2 separate regions of the Homo sapiens genome follow, and region 2 is linked to region 1. The links are contacts of gene promoters, found by promoter capture Hi-C in blood cells and fetal thymus (Javierre and others, 2016). All regions are on one chromosome and are shown on one strand. Each heading gives the region's core, a stretch centred on a gene start or on the middle of the fragment in contact. The rest is flanking DNA. Distances are from core to core; before and after follow the strand shown.

The links. The method cuts DNA at HindIII sites, captures the fragments that hold promoters and counts their contacts. A CHiCAGO score of 5 or more calls a contact.
Region 2: a fragment that was not itself captured here is called in contact with the fragment with the promoter of POLR3A in region 1 in 5 of 17 cell types (naive B cells, activated CD4 T cells, endothelial precursors and 2 more); the score reaches 7.6 in naive B cells.

Annotation. Positions count from the first base shown.
Region 1 is chr10:78,027,382-78,033,116 of GRCh38, reverse strand. It overlaps POLR3A (RNA polymerase III subunit A), which reads left to right and starts at 3,602. Exons shown (of 31, transcript NM_007055.4): 1 at 3,602-3,753. The coding sequence starts at 3,710. RefSeq lists an enhancer at 3,433-3,682. The HindIII fragment of the contact is 13,008 bases long and covers 1-5,735 here.
Region 2 is chr10:79,105,682-79,111,166 of GRCh38, reverse strand. All of the region lies in intron 1 of ZMIZ1 (zinc finger MIZ-type containing 1), which reads right to left. Among named protein-coding and RNA genes, the nearest start is that of ZMIZ1, 39 kb to the right of the region's middle. RefSeq lists a silencer at 3,636-3,813. The HindIII fragment of the contact is 2,257 bases long and covers 2,720-4,976 here.

The sequences.
Region 1 (5,735 bases), core at 2,353-4,852:
CCCAGCTACTCGGGAGGCTGAGGCAGGAGAATCGCCAGAACCCGGGAAGCAAAGGTTGCAGTGGGCCGAGATCACACCATTGCACTCCAGCCTGGGCAACAGGAGCGAAAATCCGTCTCAGAAAAAAAAAAAAAAGAAAAGAAAAAAAAGGAAAAAAAAATTGGAAGCCAGGGGCAGTGGCTCACGCCTATAATCCCAACACTTTGGGAGGCCGAAGCAGGTAGATGACCTGAGGTCAGAAGTTCGATACCAGCCTGGGCAAAATGGCGAAACCCCGTCTCTACTACAAAAAAAAAAAAATTGGCCGGGCGTGGTGGTGCATGCCTCTAATCCCAGCTATCTGGGAGGCTGAGACAGGAGAATCGCTTGAACCCGGGAGGCGGAGGTTGCAGTGGGCCGAGATCGCACCATTGCACTCCGCCTGGGCAATAAGAGCGAAACTCCGTCTCAGAAAAAAAAAAAAAAAAAGGAAAAAAAAATTGATTGCTCCAGAAATATTTTCTTTAACGTGAAACAGACATGTAAAGAATGTAAATATATATGTTCCGGAGAAATAATAAGAAGAATTTCCCAAATGTTAGTGCAGACGAGGTGTCCAAGGTGCAGGCTTTGCGGGCAGCTTTCCTATTTTCTTTTTTTTTTTTTCCTGAGACAGAGTCTAGCTCTTGTCACCCAGGTTGGAGAGCAATGGCTTCATCGCGGCTCACTGCAACCTCGACCTCCCGGATTCAAGCGATTCTCCTGGCTCAGCTTCCAGAGTAACTAAAATTACAGGCCTGCGCCACAATGCCCAGCTAATTTTTGTATTTTTAGGAGAGACGGGGTTTCACCATGTTGGCCAGGCTGGTCTCCAACTCCTGACCGCAAGTGATCCGCCCCCGCCTCGGCCTCTCAAAGTGCTGGGATTATAGGCGTGAGCCACCGTCCCCGGCCGACTATTTTTCTTTTTTTTCGTTTTTTGTTTTTTTTTTTTTTTTTGAGACCGCATCTCGCTCTGTCACCCAGGCTGGAGTGCAGTGGCGGGATCTCGGGTCACTGCAACATCCGCCTCCCAAGTTCAAGCGATTCTTCTGCCTCAGCCTCCCGAGGTGACCAACTATCCTTATTCTTAAGAAAATAGTCAGCCGGCTGGGCACGGTGGCTCATGCCTGTAATCCCAGCACTCTGGAAGGCCGAGGCAGGCAGATCACGAGGTCAGGAGTTCAAGACCAGCCTAGCCAATATGGTGAAACCCCGTCTCTACTAAAAATACAAAAATTAGCCAGGCATGGTGGTGCGCACCTGTAGTCCCAGCTACTCGGGAGGCTGAGGCAGAAGAATATTTATTGAGTGATTGTAATGTGCCTGTTACATTCTAATTACTTTTACCTTCATTTTGCTATTTAACCTTCCCATTGACTCTAAGAAATAGGATACATATTACTCACCCATGTTATAAATGGGGAAACTAACACACAATAAGATTAAATAACTTTCCCAAGTTCACACTTTATATACGTGTATATATACACGTATGTGTATATATACACATATATCTATATCTATATCTATATATATATATATATATATTTTTTTTTTTTTTTTTTTTGAGGCAGAGTCTTGCTCTGTTGCCCAGGCTGGAGTGCAGTGGCACAATCTTGGCTCACTGCAACCTCCGCCTCCCGGATTTAAGCGATTCTCCTGCCTTAGCCTCCTGAGTTGCTGGAATTACAGGAATGCGCCACCACACCAGGCTAATTTTTGTATTTTTTAGTAGAGACGGAGTTTCACCATATTGGTCAGGCTGGTCTCAAATTCCTGACCTCATGATCTGCCCACCTCGGCCTCCCAAAGTGCTGAGATTACAGGCGTGAGCCACCGCGCCCGGCCTGCACAACTTTATTTTTTATTTTTTTTTATTTTTGAGATGGAGTTTCACTCTTGTCGCCCAGGCTGCAGTGCAATGGCATGGTCTCGGCTCACTGCAACCTCCACCTCCCAGCTTCAAGCGATTCTCCTGCCTCAGCCTCCCGAGTACCTGGGATTACAGGCGCACACCACCAACCCCAGCTAATTTTTGTATTTTTAGTAGAGATGGGGTTTCACCATGTTGACCAGGCTGGTCCCGAACTCCTGACCTCAGGTGATCCGCCCACCTTGGCCTCCCAAAGTGCTAGGATTACAGGCGTGAGCCACCACGCCTGGCTGCCTACACAACTTTAAATGGTGAAAGCTAGACTCCCATGATGGCACTGTGATTTCATAACTTTTGCTCTTAACCTCTAGATAAGTCACACACGATCCAACCCTTGTTGGTATAATATTGTAAACATCAGAGCCGGGTGTGGTGGCTCACACCTGTAATCCTATCACTTTGGGAGACTGAGGCGGGCGGATCACGAGGTCAGGGATTCGAGACCAGCCTGGCCAACATAGTAAAACCCCGTCTCTACTAAAAATACAAAAATTAGCTGGGCGTGGTGGCGGGCGCTTGTAGTCCCAGCTACTCGGGAGGCTGAGCCAGGAGAATCGCTTGAACCCGGGAGGCGGAGGTTGCGGTGAGCCGAGATTTCGCCACTGCACTCCAGTCTAGGCGACAGAGCGAGACTCCGTCTCAAAAAAAAAAAAAAAAAAAAAACAAAAAAAACCCATAATGTTGACTATATATATATATATATATATATATATATAGTCAACATTATTTCATGATTAAGTGATGGAGTACCGAAATGAGTTAGAAAAACCTGATATGCCTCGTTTGTCTGTGACATTGTGTTTTGCTAGTGAGGATCCATGGCGTCTGAAAATGAGATAGCGTCCCTTCTTAAAAATTGAAAGTTGTTAAACACTTTTGTTAAGTTCTGTTTTGAGTTTCTCACAAATAATGAGGACTTAGTTCTAATTCTAAGCGCTAAGCCCTGTGGTGATGTGATTTCCTTGCTAGGCTCATGCACTAATATATCACACTAGGATCACCTCCCACAAGTTCTCACAGACTGTAGACAACTTATTTCAAGACATGAATGATCTTTACTTTCCATTCTCCCTTTTCTTCTGTAGATTACCATGGCTGTTTTCACTCTAACAGATTTTCAACTGTTTTTGTAATCAATAATGTAAGTTTAATTCTTCCCCCCTCCCTCCAAATAACTTCATGAACTGGAGGCACATGTGCGCCCATATTTTCCGCTCTGTTTTCCTTTGTTGGTCCTCCACAGATAGTGCCCTCTGTTGGATGGGCCGGTTCATTTTAGCTTCCACCTTCCCTTAAAACAATTAGAAGCTCTTAATTTAGATGGTACTGATGTTAATGATGATGATTTTCCATTTTATGCAAGTTTTGGCCCTCTGCTTGTCTAAAAGCCTTGAGGCAAAGAGTTATATGCAGTTTCTCTGCGGGTGTCTGATTACGTGGAGAAATTGACCAGAAATGGGATTTTTAAAATACAGCACACGCCTCGGTGCGGCTTCCAGTAAGCGCCACCAGGTGACGGTGCGGGGAAAGGGAAAAAAAAAAAAAAAAAAGGCATGCCGGAAGTCTCTCTTGACAGACAGACGCGCGGGCGAGTAGCGGAAGAGGAAGCGGACACGTGGGACACTCTACGGTGGCCGAGAGGATGCCGCAGATGTGTTAGCGGCGAGTCCAGAAGCAGCCCCAGGAGGTGCTGGGGGCATCGTTTCTCTAATCTGGCCTCCCGAGTGCCAAGGAGGCGTCCCGGCAGCGGTCATCATGGTGAAGGAGCAGTTCCGGGAGACGGATGTGGCCAAGAAAATGTAAGACGGAGTAAGAGTGGCCAAAGGGCTGAGAAATAGGGCAAGGGGTCCGAGGTCAGCGGTCCCGGGTCTTGCAGGGTCAGAGATGGGGTGCAATGGGAAGGGGAGGGCCAGTAGTCCATAGGTGTGACCAGCGCCCAGAACTACCAGCGTTGGTCAAAGAGCATTGGTCAGGCTGAGGGGATTTCAGCACCTCGAGAGGTCCCTGGACTTGGGCGGAGAAGTCGGAGTGGCCTGAGCCTTAATGATTTGTGCACCCTGGGCCAAAGCTCGCATTCTCCTGAAGTCATACAATGATCCCTGTTCTTCAGCGAACTATCCCCTGCTGCAGCGAGGGGAGCAATCTGGGGCGGGGACTGTCTCTAATTCTGTCAGCCGCAGAGCGTCTGACACGGAGGCAGTAGTTGCTTACCAAAAGGATGGGGTTGCCCACTAGAAAGCTGTACCACAGGCCGACGGATGGCAGTGTCAGAAATAAAGCTGCTATCCGGACTTTTGCCTTCAGAAATACGTTATTAGGCGGTGGCTCCTTCTTAGAGTTCTCGGTAAGAAAGTGAATCCAGCCGGGCGCGGTGGCTTACTCCTGTAATCCCAGCACTTTAGGAGGCCGAAGCGGGTGAATCTCCTGAGCTCAGGAGTTTGAGACTAGCCTGGGCAACGTGGCGAAACCCCGTCTCTATCAAAAATACAAAAATTAGCAGGCGTGGTGGCGCGCCCTTGTGGTCCCAGCTACTCGGGAGGCTGAGGCCGAAAAATCACTTGAGCCTGGGAGGCAGAGGTTGCAGTGGGCAACCTCCTGCATTCCACCCTGAGTGACAGAGTGAGACGGTGTCTCAAAAAAAAAAGTGAATTCATCATTCTTACAGCAGACACTGAGGAGGATACTGCGCGTTATTCCCAGTGTTGGACGTTAAAGATACGGTCTGAATAAAACTTTTACTGCCTAATCTAGTTGGAGAAGGTACACAAGTCAACACTGGGTACGACAAGTGCAATGACAAGGGTAGGTCCAGGGGGTTTTGAGAGCACATAATGGGTCCAGGCAAAAGAAAGCAGACCAAACTGCTTTTTTCAAGGAGCAGACCTGAGGGAGAGAACACAGGTGATCAGAAGGAAGCAGAAGACTTGAAGCTGTGTTAAGAAGTCATCTTGTAGGCAGTGAGGAACCTTTGAAGGATTTTCAACAGGAGAGTATCTTGATAAGAGTTCTCCTTCTGGAAAATCTCTTGATTCATGGTGGAAAGAATTAGAGGTCGAGAGACCTTGAGACGGATATACAGAATGCCTTGCTTGGGCAGCTGTGTGGATGGTTGCCATTCACTAGAACAGGTGTCTTACCTAGGTGAATGCAGCATTCTCCCATGTGGTAGCTCTACATCGACACTGGCCCTTCACACCCACCTGTACACCTGCGCCCAGTCAGATATAATACATTCTCACAAAACAGAGAAAGTGCTTCTGTCAAAGTGCAAATTAAGGGTATTGTCAATTAAAATCCTCTAGCAGAGGCCAGGAGTGGTGGCTCACGTCTGTAATCCCAGCACTTTGGGAGGCCATGGCAGGCAGATCATGAGGTCAGAAGTTCAAGACCAGACTGGCCAATATGGTAAAACCTCATCTCTACTAAAAATACAAAAATTAGCTGGGTGCGGTGGCGCATGCCTGTATGCCTGTAACCCCAGCTACTTGGGAGTCTGAGGCAGGAGAATCGCTTGAACCCAGGAGGCAGAGGTTGCAGTGAGCTGAGATCGCACCACTGCACTCCAGCCTGGGTGACAGAGCAAGACTCTGTCTCAGGGAAAAAAAAAAATCCTCTAGCAGCTTTCCATTGTGTGGGCCATCACGCCTAGCAAATTTTTTGTATTTTTAGTAGAGACAGGGTTTCACCATGTTAGCCAGGATGGTCTCAATCTCCTTGCCTCGTGATCCACCCACCTTGGCCTCCCAAAGTGCTGGGATTACAGGCATGAGCCACCGCACCC
Region 2 (5,485 bases), core at 2,599-5,098, 1.1 Mb before region 1:
TCCTCTACTGGACCCTAACAGCTATCATTAAGTTGGGCACAGACTGGGAAGCCCACAGGTGATGGGGACTGCTCATGGGCTCTATGCACAGGGGCCCCGGTGGTGGTCAGCCCAGGAGCTGGGCAAGGGGAGCAAGTAGATTGGCAGCCATCTGCATAACTGTGCAAGGAGTCCCTCGGTGCCAGTGGCCACCCCATCTGGAAGCACAGGTGAGTGCATGACAGATGATGTATTGATATCACACTGGGATACCTGTTAATGAGGTATCATCTGTGCTTCCAGACTTCAGGTCCATTGGTCATGAAGTTCATGAGTTCAAGCCCTTCCTCCAGGCAGCTTAGAGGAACTATGGTGAAAATGGAAGCCCCAGACTGCAGTGCTTGGCAGTGGGGGCCTCAGTCCTCACCTGGCTCAGGCAAGACATCATGTTCCCCTGTGGGCCTTCTTTCAGAGCCTCTGAGCCAGCTGTGGTGCAGCCACCATATGGTTCAGAAGAGACAGGGGTAAATGTAACCACTGGCTTCCCATTGTGGGGCTGGGTGGCTGCAGAGGGCACAGCATTCAGAGTCCCAGGAGCCAGCTCCTTTGTAGTCGGCCAACATCAGTACCAACTACCTCCTTCCCCAGGGCACCTCTTGCAGGCTGAGGCTTCCAGTTTCAGCATGGCCCTCTCAGTTCCCTGGAAGAAAAGCTTGAACTCTTCTTCGGTGGGACGGATGGACATCAAGTCTGGAAACACAGATTAAACCTCATTAATAGGTATCCTAGTGTGGTATTAATGCACCATCCGCCATGCATTCACCTGTCCTTCCAGACCGAGTGGCCACCGGTATCGCAATAAGGCCAAAAACAAGAATAACAAATACCGCTGATTTGAGCAGCTGCTTTGTGTCAAGCTCTGTGCTAAGCTCCACACTCATTTCTCCTGAATTCTCCCAACATGCCAGGAGATGGATACTACTACGAACATGCCTGCTGGAAAGATGAGGAATCTAAGGATAATAGAGATGCAGATGAGGATGAAGTAACCTTCCCACATCCCAAGGCCAGAGGGTGGCAGCATGGGGGTTTGGATGCAGGCATCTGGCCCAGGCCATGCATGCCACCCCCAAGTGCCTAGCACCCCTCATCTCCTTTGCTCACAGCTGGAACAAGTCCTATGGGTACCACCCTGCAGCCTTCACTGAACCTTTTTCTCATCTGACCTTCAAAACACTCCATGAGACCACTGGTGAGGGTCATTATTGCCATCTTACAGATGGGGAGACTGAGGTCTGCTGGGGGAAGGAACTTGACTTCTCTAGCAGTTTCTGCACCCCTTTTGTCCTCACAATAACCCCATGAGGTGGCCATTGCTAAGACCATTTTGCAGGTGGGAAAACAGTGATGATGGGAGAGGCAGAGGGGCTGTCTAGGGCCACATGCTGGCAACAGAGCCTGGGTTTGTGCACCTGGCTGCCTGACTCTTGACTGGGCTTCTCCCACGACCCGGGGCTGTCCTCAAGGTCTGGCACAGAATATGGGCGAGTGCATAGGCATGGTGGGGAGAAACAAAGGGTGGATCAGGAACCCAGTGTGGGGGCCTGGGAGTGGGCACCACATCCCTCCCTCCCAGCCTCCCCTCTCCAGCACCATCCATATGGAGGTGGGGTGGAGATGCTGAGGACAGATGAGGCTACCTCCCCAGTTCCTTCAGGACTCCTGGACTGGGGCACTCTATACTCATTTACGATGACAGAGAGTCTTATCCATGAGCCTAATGATCAGGCGGGGGCAGCCCAGCCACGCTGGGCACCGGGTGTGTGTTGCACGCAAGGATGTGAGTGTGGACAACACCCATAATGAAAAAGACAGGATGAGGCGGCAGTTGCATGCCCACACATGTGTGCACACAGACCCATGCACACAGGCGCACTTGCACAGAGGCATGTACACCCCTCACCAATGCACATCCACACTGGGACACACACAGGACAGCGAACAGACATCCACCTCCCAGAGCCACGAACAGATCAACACAGAGAGAGGCAGCCCAGAGGACATAGGCACATGGATGCCTGCAGAGTGCAGGCAGACACACACATGTGTGCACCTGGGCACACCTGTGTTCATCTGCGCACAGGCCCAAAGCAGCACACACCTGCGTGCTGGGCTAACACAGTTTATGGGCTGTGGGCAGGGATGTGGACAGCCTCAGGTGCACACAGAGCACGTGGGCCTGGGTGTGCCCACTCAGGCGTGGGTCTGGGTGCATGCATGTGCACATGCATGCACAGGGGCCTCGGTGGTGGTCAGCCCCAGGAGCCAGGCAGGGGAGAAGGTGGGCTTGCAGAATTGTGCAAGAAGCCCCTCACTGCCTCTGTGCTGATGTAGTTAGGCCCGTCCAAAACAGCCCCATAAATCAGGATGCTGCCTGCTGTAAGCATTTATATCACTGTCCCTGGGATGCAGAGCTTAGAACAGAGAAGCAGCCAACCTCAGGCCCTGACCCACGATCTGTGTGTATTAGGGGGTGATGGTTGGTATTTGGCTTTCCTTCTACCCAAGGCCACCTCCCCACCCTTACCCCAATCAGGCCCCCTGTCCTGCTAGCCCAATATGTCCGGCCTCCCTCAGGCCTTTCTTCCCCATCCCACCTTTCTTCCTTCACTCTCAGCCTGAGATCTCAAAGTGCACCATCAGCCTGAGCACCACCCTCCCATCCCCAGTGCTGAAAGCTTCTCCCAGCAATTGGCACCCTAGGACCTAGGTATGGGTGGGTGGGGTGAACAGTCCATTCCCAGACAGTAACACTGCAGGTGGTTATCAGATCTGAGATCTGAGCTGGGGTCCATACCTAGCTCCACCTCGGATGAGTCCCACCACCCCTTCTCCCAGCCTCACTTCCCCTGTCTGTAAAGGGGGACTGGAATGGGACCTCCCAGGGCTGCTCGTCCTGAGGATCTGCTGCCTAGGGAAAAGCTCCTCTGTGGATGCTGATTAATTATGACTATTAATAATACAACCATCTGTATCTCACAGTGGAGCGAGGATGATTAAAACTGGGCCCTGTGCCCCAGTGGCAGAATAAATGGGTCTCCGGGTGGGCTGGGATGTCAACACTAGCCTGGAAGCAGATCACTGGTGACTGTGTTGGGAGGGGCTCTTTATATTGCATAGACAGATGCTGAGAGGAAGGACAGAAAGGCAGGCAGGCAGAAAGAAGGTGGGGAGCTGGCTTACCAGACGATGAACAATAGACAATTACCCCATGCCAGGGCCCTCAGGCAGGACTCTGTGCCTGCCCCTGGGACAAAGCAACTGGGTCTTTTCACCTCTTCTCAACCCCACCTCCACCCTACAGCAGAGCCCAGAAGCTCCAGCTGCTGGAGGTAGTGAGGCGGTAGGCATGAGTGCCATCCTCTGTCCAGAGAAGTTTTGGAGGTTGCTATCTGCCAGGATCAGGCCAGTGCCCTCCCTGCCCCCTGCAAGCCCTGCTCCAAGTAGCGTCCATCAACGGAGGAGCCTTTCTGAATGCCTCCGAGTAGTGTGGGAGCAATGGAGACGGTCCCTCCTCCCACCGCCCGGTGGTGCCCAGTGCACCTCTGACCTCACCCATCCACTTGAACGCTCTTTCGTGGTGAACACATCTGCCTCCCACCTCACATTCACCAGACTGTGAGCAACTCTGATCAATCCACCTCTGTGAACACCACTGGCGGGCCCCACAGAACCCTCACCCTGAGACAGACACTGTTAACCCAGTAATACTCACAAGAGCCCCGTGTGGTGTCTACACCCCTTTTATCAATGAAGAAACTGAGGCACAGAGAGAGAAAGGAACTCACCAAAAGTCACACGGCCAGAAGTAGTTCAAATGCAAAGCATGCTGTTTGACTCCTGAGGTCTAACCCGCTAGGCTACAAAAGCTGACTGAATGAATGAGGCTTAAATAGCAGGATGCAGAAAGTTCTGGGCTTTGTAAGTGGACAGTGAAGTGGCCAGAAGATGGGTATCACAGGTTCAGGCCAGATGTCTGCATTAACTGGCTGTGTGGCCGCAAGCCAGTCACTTGCTCACTCTGGCCTTCAATTTCCTCACCTGAAAAAAGTGAGCAAATGGGGCTGCTCCATCCCCTGGCCAGATGCAAAGGCAATGGAAGAGTGAGTGCTCTGAAAATGATCAAAAAGCATGATCATGAGGGCTATATCCACAGCAGCCAGGACTTCCAAAGCGGAGCCCAAATGCCTGTTCAGGCAGGGGCACTCAAGAACAATAGATGAAGGATCTGAAACCAGGGCTGTCCTAGAAAATCTGGGGCACTCGGCCACCTGCACGATGCCTGTAGTGAGGTAGTGTTACATGGACTGCCGCCAAGCCAGGCCGAACCACCTCTCCAGTCCCATTTGTCGATCATTCTTGGGTCTCATCAACACACTTCCTGGGTACCTACCCCATATCCAGCCCTAGCAGGGAGTGGGTATGGAATGAACAAGAGCTTCCTAAACTCAAGGGCTGAGTGTTGACCCTCCAGGGCCTGCAATGTGGTTGGGGGATGTCCCCTTGCACAACGGGCAAAGACCGGCCAAGGAGCATCTGCTAAGTTCTTATAGGAGCTTCTGGGCTCAATCACCCACTGATCGCCAAGCTGGGTGCTGGCGATGCAATGGGGGCAGGATCTAGCCACAGGCTTGGGGGAGCATATGAGTCACAAATAAAGGCCTGTGTACCCCCAGGCTTCCTTCCCACACCCATGGCAGGCATTACCAATTGGTCCCCATGCTCTCTTACAGAGCTCCTTGTAGCCTCAGAATTGCTATTCTGTATAGCACTCCAGGCTGTCACTCTCAGGCAGAGCATAAGACAAAACCTACAGCACTTGATGTCCCTGTTAGTGGAGCAACTACTACATTCTGCTGGGTTCAGCCACATCTGGGAGAGCTAGGGCCTGGTCTTGGTCTCTGGCCTAGGAGAGAGCAGCCAGATGGTGTCAAGCTTAGACCCTCAGTTTGGGAACTTCAATGGAGAGGCACAGAGGGCCTGGGGGTGGGGGGATTTGGTTTTGCTACAGAATCCCAGCTTCTTGGCCAAGACTCTCCACGAGAGTGGTTTCCTTGGCCCGGATGCCAGAATGGGGCTTTCTGTAGCCCCACCGTCTTAGGGAGTGTGGTGGTCACCTCTGGGTATTGTGCAATTGGAAGACAATTTACCAGAACGTCCCTCCAGCAACCCCTCCCCACTCATTCCTTCTACAAGGGCACAGAAGTTGGTGAGCACTTAGGGGAAGGGCAACCTGGACAGTGTGCAGAGTCCGTCACATTTCCTCCCATCTTCCTGATGTTTGTCATTTCCTTCTGCCATCGAAACTGCCATTAGCTTAATAATCAATTCACAACTTTTGCATAAATACTTTTATTTTTAAAAGAACTTTATATTACTACCTTAAATACAAAATTAGCCTTACTCACCAAGGATAGAAGTTAAACACAAAAACAAATACAAGGAG